Linked DNA regions of Homo sapiens: all the other regions are linked to region 1. The links are contacts of gene promoters, found by promoter capture Hi-C in blood cells and fetal thymus (Javierre and others, 2016). All regions are on one chromosome and are shown on one strand. Each heading gives the region's core, a stretch centred on a gene start or on the middle of the fragment in contact. The rest is flanking DNA. Distances are from core to core; before and after follow the strand shown.

Evidence for each region. The method cuts DNA at HindIII sites, captures the fragments that hold promoters and counts their contacts. A CHiCAGO score of 5 or more calls a contact.
Region 2: a contact is called between a fragment that was not itself captured here and the fragment with the promoter of MBOAT1 in region 1, in 3 of 17 cell types (M0 macrophages, M2 macrophages and endothelial precursors). The highest score is 9.6, in M0 macrophages.
Region 3: a fragment that was not itself captured here is called in contact with the fragment with the promoter of MBOAT1 in region 1 in 1 of 17 cell types (M0 macrophages); the score reaches 7.2 in M0 macrophages.
Region 4: a fragment that was not itself captured here is called in contact with the fragment with the promoter of MBOAT1 in region 1 in 1 of 17 cell types (neutrophils); the score reaches 6.6 in neutrophils.
Region 5: the fragment with the promoter of GMNN here is called in contact with the fragment with the promoter of MBOAT1 in region 1 in 1 of 17 cell types (neutrophils); the score reaches 5.1 in neutrophils.

The regions. Positions count from the first base shown.
Region 1 is chr6:20,211,132-20,213,831 of GRCh38, reverse strand. MBOAT1 (membrane bound glycerophospholipid O-acyltransferase 1) reads left to right here and starts at 1,363. Exons shown (of 13, transcript NM_001080480.3): 1 at 1,363-1,696. The coding sequence starts at 1,598. RefSeq lists an enhancer at 335-835 and a silencer at 1,018-1,557. The HindIII fragment of the contact is 5,898 bases long and covers 1-2,700 here.
Region 2 is chr6:24,406,899-24,409,598 of GRCh38, reverse strand. MRS2 (magnesium transporter MRS2) reads right to left here. Exons shown (of 11, transcript NM_020662.4): 3 at 1,155-1,191; 4 at 26-138. Among named protein-coding and RNA genes, the nearest start is that of MRS2, 5.3 kb to the right of the region's middle. The HindIII fragment of the contact is 1,787 bases long and covers 536-2,322 here.
Region 3 is chr6:24,737,896-24,740,628 of GRCh38, reverse strand. No RefSeq gene overlaps it. Among named protein-coding and RNA genes, the nearest start is that of LINC02828, 3.0 kb to the left of the region's middle. The HindIII fragment of the contact is 163 bases long and covers 1,317-1,479 here.
Region 4 is chr6:24,915,861-24,918,560 of GRCh38, reverse strand. The region is part of intron 1 of RIPOR2 (RHO family interacting cell polarization regulator 2); the gene reads left to right. Among named protein-coding and RNA genes, the nearest start is that of RIPOR2, 19 kb to the left of the region's middle. RefSeq lists an enhancer at 153-652. The HindIII fragment of the contact is 2,135 bases long and covers 326-2,460 here.
Region 5 is chr6:24,773,686-24,776,401 of GRCh38, reverse strand. It overlaps GMNN (geminin DNA replication inhibitor), which reads right to left and starts at 1,465. Exons shown (of 7, transcript NM_015895.5): 1 at 1,158-1,465. RefSeq lists an enhancer at 471-550. The HindIII fragment of the contact is 2,242 bases long and covers 303-2,544 here.

The DNA.
Region 1 (2,700 bases), core at 114-2,613:
ATATACCTCACTTCAGCTGTCATCTAGCTCCAGATAAGATGAATGTTGCTCCAATGCTGGTCATTTTCCAGGACTCTATGATATTAAATGAACCTATCTAGCCTAGTGATCCTCAAGTATATGCCTGTGTGCGTGTGTGCATGTGTCTGTCTGTCTGTAGTGTGGGTTTGCTTGTGAGTGGTAGAGATTATCATCTGGTGGTGACATCTCCATTCGGTTAGCTTGTGGGAGTGGTGGTACAGACTTTTTTTTTTCCTCCTCCACAGGGGACATAGGTTGAGAAACTCTGGCCTGGCAATTTAATGCTCAGTGCAGTTTGATGGTGATAAAACTCCTGAAGAAGGCAAGAGTGAGGCCTGAGTCTTGGAGAGTAAGTTGTTGCCAGTGCCTGACAGGCCTTCGGTTTAATTTGAAGCTGGAGGCCACATTGATAAAGTCGGCCCCGAAAGTCATTGCCTGTCTGATCGAATGCCGGTTTACCCAGCGGAGGCTGGGGGCCACGTGAGCTCACTTTCTTTGGTTTTCTACCCAGCAGCCCAGAATATTACCTTCCTGAAACCCTTTTTCATCAGCTAGCGATTCCTGAAAAGGATCTTCAAGATTTTTATGTTTCTCAGAACCTAGCAATAACTTGGAAAAGTTTTCCAAGTAACATTGATGTGTGGGTGTTCGGGGGCAGACAAGTTAAGGAGCAAGGCACCCTTTTTGAGGACCCGTGGCATGCAAATGACTTATCAGAATGCACATAGTATGACAGTAAACACCGTTTCTTACAGAGGTGAAATAACTCTCACTCCACAGAGACGGAAGTGACCCGAAGCTAGCAGTCCCCTGTATTTGCTTGTGTGACACCGAACATGTCAGATCAGGGTGTAGGAAACTATGCCTAGCGCAGAGGAGGGTAAAGGAAGTAGGGAGTCTGGTGGCTGCGGCGCTCCAGCTTCCAGCCACCGGCAGAGGAACCCTCTACGGCTTGAAAGGGAAACGCAGCCACTCAGCCGCTTCGACTGCGGCGGCGAAACCAAAACAGGGTGGGGCGGGGTGGGTGGTGCTCTCTAGTGGAAGGCGCCCGCTGGGTGAGGTCGTTTTGTCTGGCGGGGGGCTAGGACGGTCAGCCCGGGAGGAGGAAAGGCGCGTCCCGCCTCCAGCTGCAGGGCCAGGCGGCGGCGCCCGCTGGCGTCGCTTTCCCTCTCCCGGTCGGCCTCGGTGCAGGCCAGGCTGGGCGGGCCGGGCGGCGCTTGGGGGCCGGGCTCGGAGTCCCCACTTTTCCTCCCTCCTTCCCTCCTCTCGGGGCCGTCCCGAGCGGCCGGGCCAATGGGCGCGGAGAGGAAGGGAGCGGGAAGCGGGGCGCCTTGGGCCCGGCCCTCCTACGGCGCCCGTGGCTGCAGCGCCAGCGCCAAAGCCAAGTTTGCGCCTCGAGAGTTTGCGCCTCGAGAGTTTGCGCCGGTTCGCATTCCCCGGCCTCCCGTTCGCTCCCCCGCGAACCAGGCGGCCGTGCGCCTCTCGGGGCAACCACCCAAGAGCACCCGGGCGGGAGGACGCCGAGCAGGGGGTGTTGCGGGCTGGGACAGGGGCAGCCACCTCCCGAAGATGCAGGATGGCAGCAGAGCCGCAGCCGTCCAGCCTTTCCTACCGCACCACGGGCTCCACCTACCTGCACCCGCTCAGCGAGCTCCTGGGCATCCCGCTGGACCAGGTAACTGCAGGCCGGGAGCGCAGCGACCCCAGCTCCCCAGCGATCGCGTGCACGGGGCGGGCGAAAGTGTTAGCCACCGTCCCTCCGCCTCCATGGCGTATTTTACAGCCACACACTAGACAGTTGGTTTTTGTGTGTGTGTGTGTGTGTGTGTGTGTGTGTGTGTTTTCCCTTCTTGAGTTGGTGTTAGTGTTTTTCTCCTTGTAAGTGTGAAAAAATATTGGTACAGCCTGCGCGGCAAGTTCTACTGAACTTTTTTTTCTTTAAGTTTGGGATTGCCTCGTTTCCTGTAATCAAGTTCTGAAGTAGTCTGATACATGAAACCAGTGTTTCTTTCATCAGTGTCCTCAAGTCGTTATTGTTTTTAATTTAGATGACCCTACTTAAAAAACAAGCGCGATGAATCTGTAGACGGTAGTCTATAGATTTTGAATGCAGGACCTGGGTTTTAGACTTCTGAGGCGAGGCTTGTTCAGGGGTGACAGTTATTTTGTACCGTGTGTGATGCGGGACACACAAGGACACTTTGGTTTTCCCAGGGTTCGGTTGGCTCATATGCCTGGGGCTGGAGCTTCTGAGTAGGACAGGTTAGGGGGAGGAGAGGGGCCCCAGTGAAGTTATTTGAACTGTCCAGGAATTATCTACAACCATTAAAATTAAAAATGGCAACAACAGTGATTCCTGGCAAGAAACCTTCCTGAAGATGAAGCCCGTCTTACTCATTTCCTTGTCTCTTCAGGTGCTGCAGGCTAGATCTGCGGGATACTTAGTAGTGACCCAATCAGTAAATGTTGATTTAAATAGAATTGGGCAGGGCATGCTGGGGGAGGACCCACTGCGCTCCTGTTTTGTTTCATGCTTTTTTGCCTGGTTTTCTTCCCCTTCCTCTCACCAGTGCTCCTTTTCCTTTCCTTTTAACAAGAGCACACCTGCTGCCCTTTGCGCACACCCCTTCAGCAATGAGAAAGTGAGACCTGGACATTTGCCTTATTCGGGTCCTGTTT
Region 2 (2,700 bases), core at 180-2,679, 4.2 Mb before region 1:
CATAGATGAAAATAAAATATTTTACCTCCATTCTCATGATAATCCTATTGTTTCTGACTGTGATACTCATTACATGCTGAAATCTCAAATCTCTGGCTTGAAGACCTAACTCTTGGTATAATTCAGTTTTCTTCCTTTCTATAAAAGAAATAAACAGAGAGGGCTAAACCAAATACATTAAATGGCTTAGATTTTTCCATCAGAGCAGTCCTCCCACCACCATCAAGACAATTTTTGGTTACTACCAGAAACAAAAACTAAAATTAAGTCTTTTAATATCCATTTTTACCTAGAAAACATACTCGGGCTAAATAGAGTCAAACTAATGATTTTCTTATCTATACCTCATAACTTTCTCACTACTTAGAAGACCCTTGAGACTAATACAGAAACCACAACTATGCATCATTAGAACCTATAAATGTCCAGCTCTAGAGACAGGTTATCTCTCTTAAATATAAACTGTACACAACTATATTTTCTATTTTTACTACAACATCATCTTCAGTATTTTATATATGTGAACAGATAAGCTTGATTTTCTTTGTTCTTAGACTAATACAAAAATGAGAAAAGCTGAATTTATTACCTGAGACTGATTCATTCTCAAGGGAGATGTGAAACTCACATCTGAAGTCACACTGTAAAGTAATGCCTAGTCTCACTTTTTAAAGTAGCTGTCCACAGAGAGCCATCAGCAGCAGAGTTCCATGTGGCTGCCATGCAGTGACATGGCCCTGTTCATCTTTTGTCACCCACTGCAATGTCAGTGGTATTATGTGACTCTGCCTTAAACATGCTTCAGGAGAATGAATGAGGGCAGTGAAAGGGACGCCAACAAGAGAGACAAAAGAGAAAAAGAGTGTGTCTCTGGGCTCCAGTTCTACACCAGCCTCTGCTCTCCCAAATATTCCTTCAATAGCCTGTTAGAGCAAAAAGTGGCTCCTGCTAGAAGAAAACAATTCTGGGAGAATACACACAGTCTGAGTATTGCCAGCTCCAATTAAGACTGATGGACAAATGCTGAAGAAAGATCTCTTTCAACACACCTGTATATGCAAAGAATATTTTACTCAAAATACTACAATTTCTTGATTTCTATCAGATTCACTCATTAAATGTTTAAAAAATGATTTAGAATGCTAATCACTCACCAAAAGAAGTAACGTTTCCCTGTTTGTCAAATTTTGTCTGAAAATAGAGAATAAAACAAATTATGATTTTCTTTCAAATTAGAATGCTACTTATGGTATTGCTAATTTAGTTAAGAATTTATGGTATTGTAAGTAATATCCCCAAAATGTTGAAATGCAAATATAAACCATTACTGACCTTCTTTAGATTAAATCCAGTTATGAGTTAAGGGTTTTTTTAAAATCCTTTTTTCCTTTGATAGGAAAAATCAGACCTGGGTTTAACTTTCTATCTTGGTTCCTCTAGAAAGTTGATAAAGGAGTATCAGTTGTGTTGTTACTAGGTAACAATCCTTATGGTAAAAATGACCATTGACTGGTAGACTGCACTGGACTGGGAAGACGAACAAATTACAGTTATCAGGTGAAAAGCAATAGCTCTCTTTGCCCTTTCCTGATTGTGGTGGCTCTTGTGGCCATGTTCCCAGCCAGAATCCTGGACACTGTGCCCCTGCGATGGTTACAAGGGATACTGTCACTACGGGGCATGGGGATTCGAGCCAAGATGAATCTCACATCCACCTTTGAGAATCTTATCTCCTTGTCACTGAGCGATCACTCAGAGGACCAGAGAAGCCCCTGGATGGCTGCAAAGACTTCTTTTGAAGAGGAAACACCTAACACTACCCTGTTGTTTCTCCTGTCCCTTATCCTTCTGAGTAGACTGGGACCAAGTATGGCCCGCCTTGTGAATCTAAATGTCTACATGAGGCCAAAGTCTCTTTGGTGGGTGTTGCAGAATCAATAAAGATTTACAGAACCCCTTCTGATAGTTTGAAGAGAGGATTTGATACAGAAAATGCACCTATTTCCTGCAAAGTAGGGGACTATCTTTCAGTGATGTTTATCCACAGTCAAGTTTGAAGCTGTGAAACATTTAATGAATCACTATGTGCTGAGCTGTACTACTTACTACGACAGACACATTTCAGAAAGACACTCCAACATACAGGTTTAAGTACAATATAGGTCTTGGGTTACTACCATGGAAATATACATGCTGTGTTAATCACACAATAAAAACTCACAATATATATATTTTATCTTGCTTCTCATCAGCAAAAATAAAATTAATATGAATATATAAGTTCCATAGAACATTAAAGGAAAATTTATATCAAAGAAAGCTTTATATTTGTGTAATAGTCTAGCTTTCAGCCTTATATTTCACAAATACATAAACCCACTGCAGAAAATTTGAAAATAAATATACGTAACATAAAACTATATTAATCACCTGAAATGACAAATTTTAGAGAAAACCATGTCAATATTTCACTGAATATCCTTCCAAACATTTTCCTAATAAAACATACTTATACATACTGCTTTGCAGTCTCCCTCCTTCCAAATTAGCAACATATGCTGAATATTTTTGCATCTCAATATTTATATGTACCCTTTTTTTCTTTAATGGAACTTAAAAAAATTTTTTAAATCATACAAATTATAAAGAAAAAAATATTTACTTTGTAACCAGCTCACTTTCTAAACTATTTCAAACAGC
Region 3 (2,733 bases), core at 149-2,648, 4.5 Mb before region 1:
TTTTAACCTTAATCATCTCTTTAAAGGTCTTATCTCTAAATACAGGCACATTCTGAAGCATACTAGGGATTAGGATTTCAATATATGAATTTTGGGGAGGCACAATTCAGTCCGTAACAGTTACTCGCACCAAAACTTGGGTGTCCTCTTCACTTACCTCTATCATTTTCTATCCAGATATTTTACTTTCTAGATTTTTTCTATTAAGTGTTTAAATTCATCCTTTTATCACCATTGCCAGTGCCATTTTCAGGCCTTAATCAACTCTAAATTTCCATGCCTGGTCTTTTATAAGGCCCTCTGTAATCTGACCCATCTTGTCTTTTCTTTTAGTATGTTTATCATGTACATTGTAGAAAATATAACACTAAATTTTTGTGTCTGGCTACTTTCACTCAATAAAAAAGCAACAGTCCTCTTCCCTACCCAGACCCATTTCCCAGATGCAGCCTTCATATAGTTGAAAATTCAAAAGGTACCAAAGTCTACACTGTGAAAAATCTCCCTCCCACAGGCAACCAACGTTATTAGTTTATTGTATATCCTGATCTTATAGCTAGTTTGTACCCATGGGTACGTCTACTCATTTTCCCACAAATGGCAGTGTATTAGCCTGTTCTCATACTGTTATGATGAAATATTCACAATTGGGTAATTTATAAAGAAAAAGAGGTTTAATGGACACACAGTTCCATATGGCTGGGGAGGCCTCACAATCATGGCAGAAGGTGAAGGAGGAGCAAAGGTACATCTTAAATGGTGGCAGGCAAGGGCAGGTATGCAGGGGAACTGCCCTTTATAAAACCATCAGATCTTGTGAGATTTATTCACTATCATGAGAACAACATGGAAAAAACCCACCCCCATGATTCAATTACTGCCCACCGGGTCCCTCCCATGACACAAGGGGATTATGGGAGCTACAATTTGAGATGAGATTTGGGTGGGGACACAGCCAAACCATATAAGGCATCATACTGTAGACACTGCTTTACCTATACAAATTGCAATTTTCATTTAATATAACAAAAATAGCAAGCAGTTCTCAAGCACTTTCTATTTTTCTATTAGTATTCTGAATGCTTTGCATGTTTTAACTCATTTAATCCTTGAGATAACCTCCTGGAGTAAGAGCTATTATAATCCCCATTTTACAAATGAGAAAACTGAGACACAAAGCCTAGGATTGGCAGAACTAGATTTGAACCCAGCAGGCAAGCCCTCAGAGCTCAGTACTTAACCATGATAGCATGTTACTATGTCTTAGGGATTGTTCTATATCTGGACATAAAGAATGTTTGCATCCTTTTTAAGCTTTTCTTTTATTGGAGTTGAAACATATGCTCAGGAAGGTGCACAAACCATATGTACAGATGAAGGAATCATTAGAGAGTGAAGATACCTGTATAATCACCACCTAGCTCAAGAAACCAGAACCCCAGAAGCACCCTCTCCTCTCATGTGCTCCTAATTAAAGCTTACAGCGATTATAAAATATAGTCCCCAAATACTACTTTGACACCATTCCTCACATCGAGAAATAATGTCTCTATCTCCTGCCCTTGAATCAAGATTGACAGCTTAACCCATAGAGTACTGCAGAAGTGATACTGTGCCAGTTTTCAGGCCAGGCCTTAAGAAACTGGCAGCTTTCTCTTCCTGTTTCTTGGGATGTTTGCTCTTGGAATCCAGCCACCATGATAAAGAAAAACCATGCAGCTACATGAGAGGACAAGTGTAGGTATTCTGGCCAACAGTCCCTGAGGTCCCAGCAAACAGTCGGCATTAACTGCCAGACATGTAAGTGGGTAAGACTCCCAGTGATTTCACCTCCAAGTCTCAAGTCCCCAACAACACCCGCCCTCACTGCCCCCAGCCTTTGAACTGTCCAAGCTTATGCTGTTGAGGCAGAGATGAGCTGTCCCCTCCAAGCCCTGCCGAAATTGCAGACTTGTTGGCAAAGCACATTGTGGTGGTTGTTCGAAGTTGCTAAGTTCAGAGTGGTTTTTTACTTACCAGTAGATAACTAGGGCACTATTTTCTTTTTCCTCCCAAGGGTAATCACTATCTTGACTTCTGCTACTATAGATTAGATTTGTTTTTCTTCAACCTATATAAATATAGTCTTATATGGTTATATAGTTTGTATTATACAAACTTATATAGTTAGCATTATTTTGTGTCTGGCTACTTTCGCTCAATGTAATGTTTGTGGGATTCATCCATGTTGTTGCATGTAGCTATCATTTATTATTGTAAAACATTTCTTTGTATGCCTATATTATATCACAATTTATTTATCCATTCTACTGTTGATGGACATTTAGGTTAGGTTATGTTTTATTTGGAGCTACTATGAATAATGATGCTTTAAATATTCTTTTTTTTTTTTTTTTTTTTGAGATGGAGTTTCGCTCTTGTTGCCCAGGCTAGAGTGCAATGGCACAATCTCGGCTCACCGCAACCTCCGTCTCCTGGATTCAAGCGATTCTCCTGCCTCAGCCTTCCGAGTAGCTGGGATTACAGGCATGGGCCACCACACCCAGCTAATTTTGTATTTTTAGTAGAGGTAGAGTTTCTCCATGTTGGTCAGGCTGGTCTCGAACTCCCGACCTCAGGTGATTCACCCGCCTTGGCCTCCGAAAGTGCTAGGATGACAGGCATGAGCCACCGCGCCCGGCCTCTTTTTTTTTTTTTTTTAATATATAAAAATGCTTTATTTTACTCTTTCCA
Region 4 (2,700 bases), core at 144-2,643, 4.7 Mb before region 1:
TAGCTCCTGAAGTTAATGGTCCCAACTTTATGAATTAGGGAGGAACTAAACTTTGGGAAGATCTTTGCATAGGTGGGGGCAGGGAGTTGGAAAAGAATTAAACAGGATTACATGCAATAACATCACTGGCCTACAATGGAAAGAGAAATGAAAATTAAATTAAATTAAAGGAGCTACCTGAAGAAGAAATATTTTTAAAATATGAATGACTGGATAAAAGCAGATACTTTAAATTTTTCAATAATAGGTAATGATTAATGATTATCAATCAAGCCAATGTCAGGAAGCTGACGGCTCCCTCATGTTAGAATAATTCAAGGAAGCTTATTTACAATGAGACGAGTTACAAGGGGGATGGGGATGCAGGGGATACTGGGGCCCAAGGTGACCTCATAGGGAGGAGCCAGGGAATGCATATTCCCACCTCACTTTCATCTCCTGTTGGGGATCCCCATTGGCTAGACCCACCTGGACATCACAGGGCGGCCACTGACGTGGTCCCTACAGGTGAGCCCTCCAGGAGACAGAAGATGGAGATGGACAGAAAGGGGCAACATGGGATAACCTGCAAACCAGGGACTGCATCAGACCCAGGGACACAGAATAAATAAATCACCTTGGAAGACCTTTACAGATACGTCTCTTTTTTTAATGTTTCCCCTGATCATGAGAGAAAAAGGAAAGATATTGTGAAGTGAAAGTCAACTTAGAACCTTTAAAAAAGCCTACTACAGCTGGGCGTGGTGGCTCACGCCTATAATCCCAGCACTTTGGGAGGCTGATGCGGGCAGAACACAAGGTCAGGGGTTCGAGACCAGCCTGGCCAACATGTTGAAACCTCGTCTCTACTAAAAATACAAAACATTAGCCAGGCCTGGTGGTACGCGCCTGTAATCCCAGCTACACGGGAGGCTGAGGCAGGAGAATCACTTGAACCCGGGAGGCGGAGGTTGCAGTGAGGCAAGATCGCGCCATTGCACTCCAGCCTGGGTGACAGAGCAAGACTCCGTCTCAAGAAAAAAAGAAAGAAAAAAAAGCCTACTACATATCAAGTACTTAGCATTGTGCTTACACGTAGATATTGATACTTTCCAATCACTTCTACAACTGCTTTGAATCATGTTATACTTATTTTAATACCTTTGTGCAATAATACATATTGATTAAATGTATGCCATTTACTTTCAGCCTATGGCGTTTAGAACTATACGAATTTGTAAAGTTAACATTTTGCCAACATTTTTGTCCATCTAGATCACTGATTCTCAAAATGTGAACTAAAGACTCATGAGGTTTCCCAGGACCCTTTCAAGGGGTCCCCAAAGTCCTCAATATTTTTTAAAAGCATAAAATGGTCTTGGGACCAAAAATTCAAAAAGGCTATTCTAGATTATGGTATTGTATCAATGGATCTTGAAACCAAGAAAAGGGCCGGGGGAACTGTTGGCCTAGATTATATTATTGCAGAAAATGATCTCTATATGTAAATATGTAATATAATAATAATATATGAGAAATCCAATCTCAAGTTTCTGGAGAGAAGGAGACTGCTATATTTAGAGAATATTTTATTTCCCATCAACTTTGAACATTTCACTGATTGTTGTCTACCTATGCAGCCTTACAGGTCACTTGGTGTGGAAGCTAGAAGTGGGGGTGGAGAGGAGGTTTAGGCTTAAGATAATTTGCCCAAGTACAGGGGACTGACTTCTGAACCTCCGGGACATTCATTCTTGGGACATACTAAAATGTCAAGAGTGTTGGCCAAACAAGTTTCTCATTGTGCAAGCAGATATGTGTGACAATGGCAAGGAAATAGCCTAAGATGTCCACTCCCTTGAGAACCTTATCATGGGTGCCAGACACGGGCAAAGGATAACAGGGTCTTTCTCTTAGCAGTTCAGAAAGCGGTGAGCAAGACCCAGCTGTCACTTGTCGGGTTGAAATATGCTTCTATAGGTACAGTTCAGACACCAATAAATGCAGGCTTGTTATGTTCTTTTTCCAGGGAAAAAGGTGGCAGAAACCAGCAGGGATAGTGTATGCTCTCATTTCTCGTTTAGTCAATATTTATTGGCTATCCTCTACACTCATTAATATAGAGGTTACTATCCTATATGCAGCACAAAACATAGTTCCTGACATCGCAGAGCTTATAAACCAATGAGGAGAAGTGTATTAAATAGCTACAACAAATGGAAGATGTGTGATTGAGTCTGCACTCAGGGGACAGATGACTTACAAGAGGACTCAGGTACAGCACAGATGACCAAGGAAAGTGTCATGAAGGAGGTAATGTTTGAACAGGGCTTCATGGGCCAGGCAGGATTTTTAGAGCCAAATATTAAAGGTAGGAGGAAAAGTGAGGCAAGGGCTCAGCAGAGAATTTTCAGGCAGTAGGAATGGCCTGAGGAAAAAGGTGGAAGCAGGAATTGTCAAATGTTAGAGCCAAAAGAAGCTTTGGTGATCAGGTTGTCCAAACCCTTCGTTTGATAGATGAGGACATAGGTCCACAAAGGCCACTGAGTTCTCTACTGGCAACACTAAAATAGAACCCAGGCATCGACTCTGAGTCCAGCACTTTTTCCAAGACTCTTCCCTGGATGCAGGGTGAGAAGAGCCAGAGCTGAGAGCCTGCATGGCAGAGTGGCGGGGATGCAGCTGGGAAGGCTTCTGGAACCAACTGCAGTGCCAAGGGAG
Region 5 (2,716 bases), core at 216-2,715, 4.6 Mb before region 1:
GGAGGTCGAGGCAGGCGGATCACCTGCATGATCACCAAAGTGCTGGAAGGTCGAGGCAAGCGGATCACCTGAGGTCAGAAGTTCGAAACCAGCCTGGCCAATATGGTGAAACTCCATCTCTACCAAAAATACAAAAATTAGCCGGACGTGGTGGTGCTCGTCTGTAGTCCCAGCTACTCGGGAGGCTGAGGCAGGAGTATCGCTTGAACCCGACAGGTGGAGGTGGCAGTGAGCCGAGATCCTGCCACTGCACTCCAGCCTGGGCAACAGAGCGAGACTCCGTCTCAAAAAAAAAAAAAGCTTAGAAAACAAAACAATCTAATTTGTGCGGGCATCCTGCTATTTTCTACTCTATTTCATGTTAAGAAAATGGTGTTCGGGCCCCAGTAAACAGACCCTACGCAATGTTCTTCAAACTGCGGGTCGCGGGCCGTGATCTCGAAATTAGTGAGTCATGAGCAACACTGCTTAGAAAAATGCAACTGAACAGAATGGAATTGAAGAGACGAGAAACATTGCTTCCATCACGTCTCATTTGGTTAGATAGCTGTGTCCTAGGTTGCGACGTAAAACGTACCTTAGTGTGAAAAAAGCTGAAAGCCACTTAGCATTCTAATCCTTCACAAGTTTCCCACGCCTGTCAGCGACCTTGCAACCCTTACTTGTTATTCTCCAGTTCCTTTAATAGCTAGATTAAAAACCCTGGCACAGGACAGGGTCCATGCGAAACCCGTATCAACAACGCCAGTATCCGTTTAATGGGAGACGCAGAATTCAGCCACCTCTTTCCATGAGCCAAATTTGCAGATCCCTCAGATCAGGACCAGCCACTTAACTGCCAAGAGGATGGATGCTTCGCCTCATCCCCACAGCTGGCAAGCCCAGGCTGAGTCCCTTACCCGCGTTGCAGTCCCCAAGCCCGGACCCAGCCAACTTGTCCCGGAGGCCCAGCGCCAGGCTAGGGGGCGGGCAGTGTGGCCCCGCGCGTCCGAGCCTACCAACCGCGGCGCGCGCCTCGGGAACTGCGCCAGCCAGCCAATAGGAAGCGCGGAAGTGAGAGCGCGCCAAAACCGACCCAGCCAATGGGGCAGTCCCTCGACTCACCTCCCAACCCCGCCCCGGCTCCCGCGACCGTTCAACAACCCCTTCGCCCTTACCCAGGCCGCGGCCCTGCAGCTGTCAAAGTAGGACGCGGCTTCAGAGGTTGGCCGGAGGGAAAGCGAGTCGTCTAGAGGCTGTGCGCCTTGCGCCCCTGCGTACCCACTTCCTGCCGCCTCTTGCCCACTTACTGGGTGGAGACGCTCAATCCTCGTAGCGAACGCACGTAGCTATGGCTGCAGCACCTCGCAAAAGGCCACAGCTCACCTACGCTGATCCCCACGGTCGCTGGAGTGCCCGGCGCGCTCTGCAGTAAAGCCCTGCTAACTCCGCTCGCCCGCTCCGAACAACCACGTGACCAACTGACGCAGACGAGGGGCGGGGCCTCTGGATCCCGCGAATCGCCTCTTCCCTCGGCCCCGCCCCTTCCTGCGCCTGCGCGGTCAACGGTAGCGAGTACTTGAGGACCGTGGGGGTTTTCTGCGGGCTGGGAGGCCTGTGCCCTTTGACCCTCCCCTCCGACCCTGCTCTTGGAACTTCCTTAAAATGCAAAGTTTTAGCCCTTTACGAAAGGGAGAAAGATTTGCCTCCATTAGTCGTTAGCACCAGAAGAACAAAATATTGTATGTGCATATATATTAATATGTAGTACACGACATATATTTGTGTAAAGCCCTGGCTCCACGGACTCGTAGTTGTATTAGGGGCTTTTATATTTTGGCTTTTTGTGTTTTGACTATGGTGTGGTGCGGTAGGAATTGTTCAGGAGACAACCGATTATCAGTTAATCCTGCAGCTATTCATTGAGCGCCTTATACGTGCCAATTACTACTGTTCTAGGCACTGAAATTACAACTGCTGTTGCAATTTGAAGGAGCAGAAACACCTTGGTAATAATTACGTCTAGCCTTTTCCTTCTTTTTTTTTTTTTTAATTGAAACGGAGTCTCGCTCTGTCACCCAGGCTGGAGTGCAGTGGCGCGATCTCGGCTCACTGCAAGCTCCGCCTCCCGGGTTCAAGCGATTCTCCTGCCTCAGCCTCCCGAGTAGCTGGGACTACAGACAAAGGGAGACCCTGTCTCAAAAAAAAATTAATTTTAAAATATTTTAAAAATAAAAAGCAGAAGGAAGGCGTTATCGAGTACAAATAAGGGACATATTACCAAATGCAATGTATGGATCTCGTCTGAACTAAACACTGTATTTAAAAAAATACCCAAGGGAAATTTGAACACTGACTGAATATTTTGGGATGGTAAGATATGAGTTGTTTAAGGTTACCTGATGAGCAATGGGTTAAAAAAAGAGATTAGTTGTAATGACAATATTGTGGGTTTTATTGTAATAGCTTCTACCTATAAATGGTAATTACAGATGAAATTTTATACCATATATTTTATTTGAAATAATTATTGAGAGAAGCAAGGGAAAAGGTATAAATCAAGCTTTCTCAGTATGGGCTCTATTGACATTTTAGACTGGGCAAATTGTTCGTGGTGGGGGCTGTCCTGGGCATTGTATGCTGTTTAGCAGTATCCCTGGCCTCTACCCTCTAGCTACCAGGAGTACATCCCAATTGTGAAGACCAAAAATGTCTGCAGACCTTGTCAGATAACCTT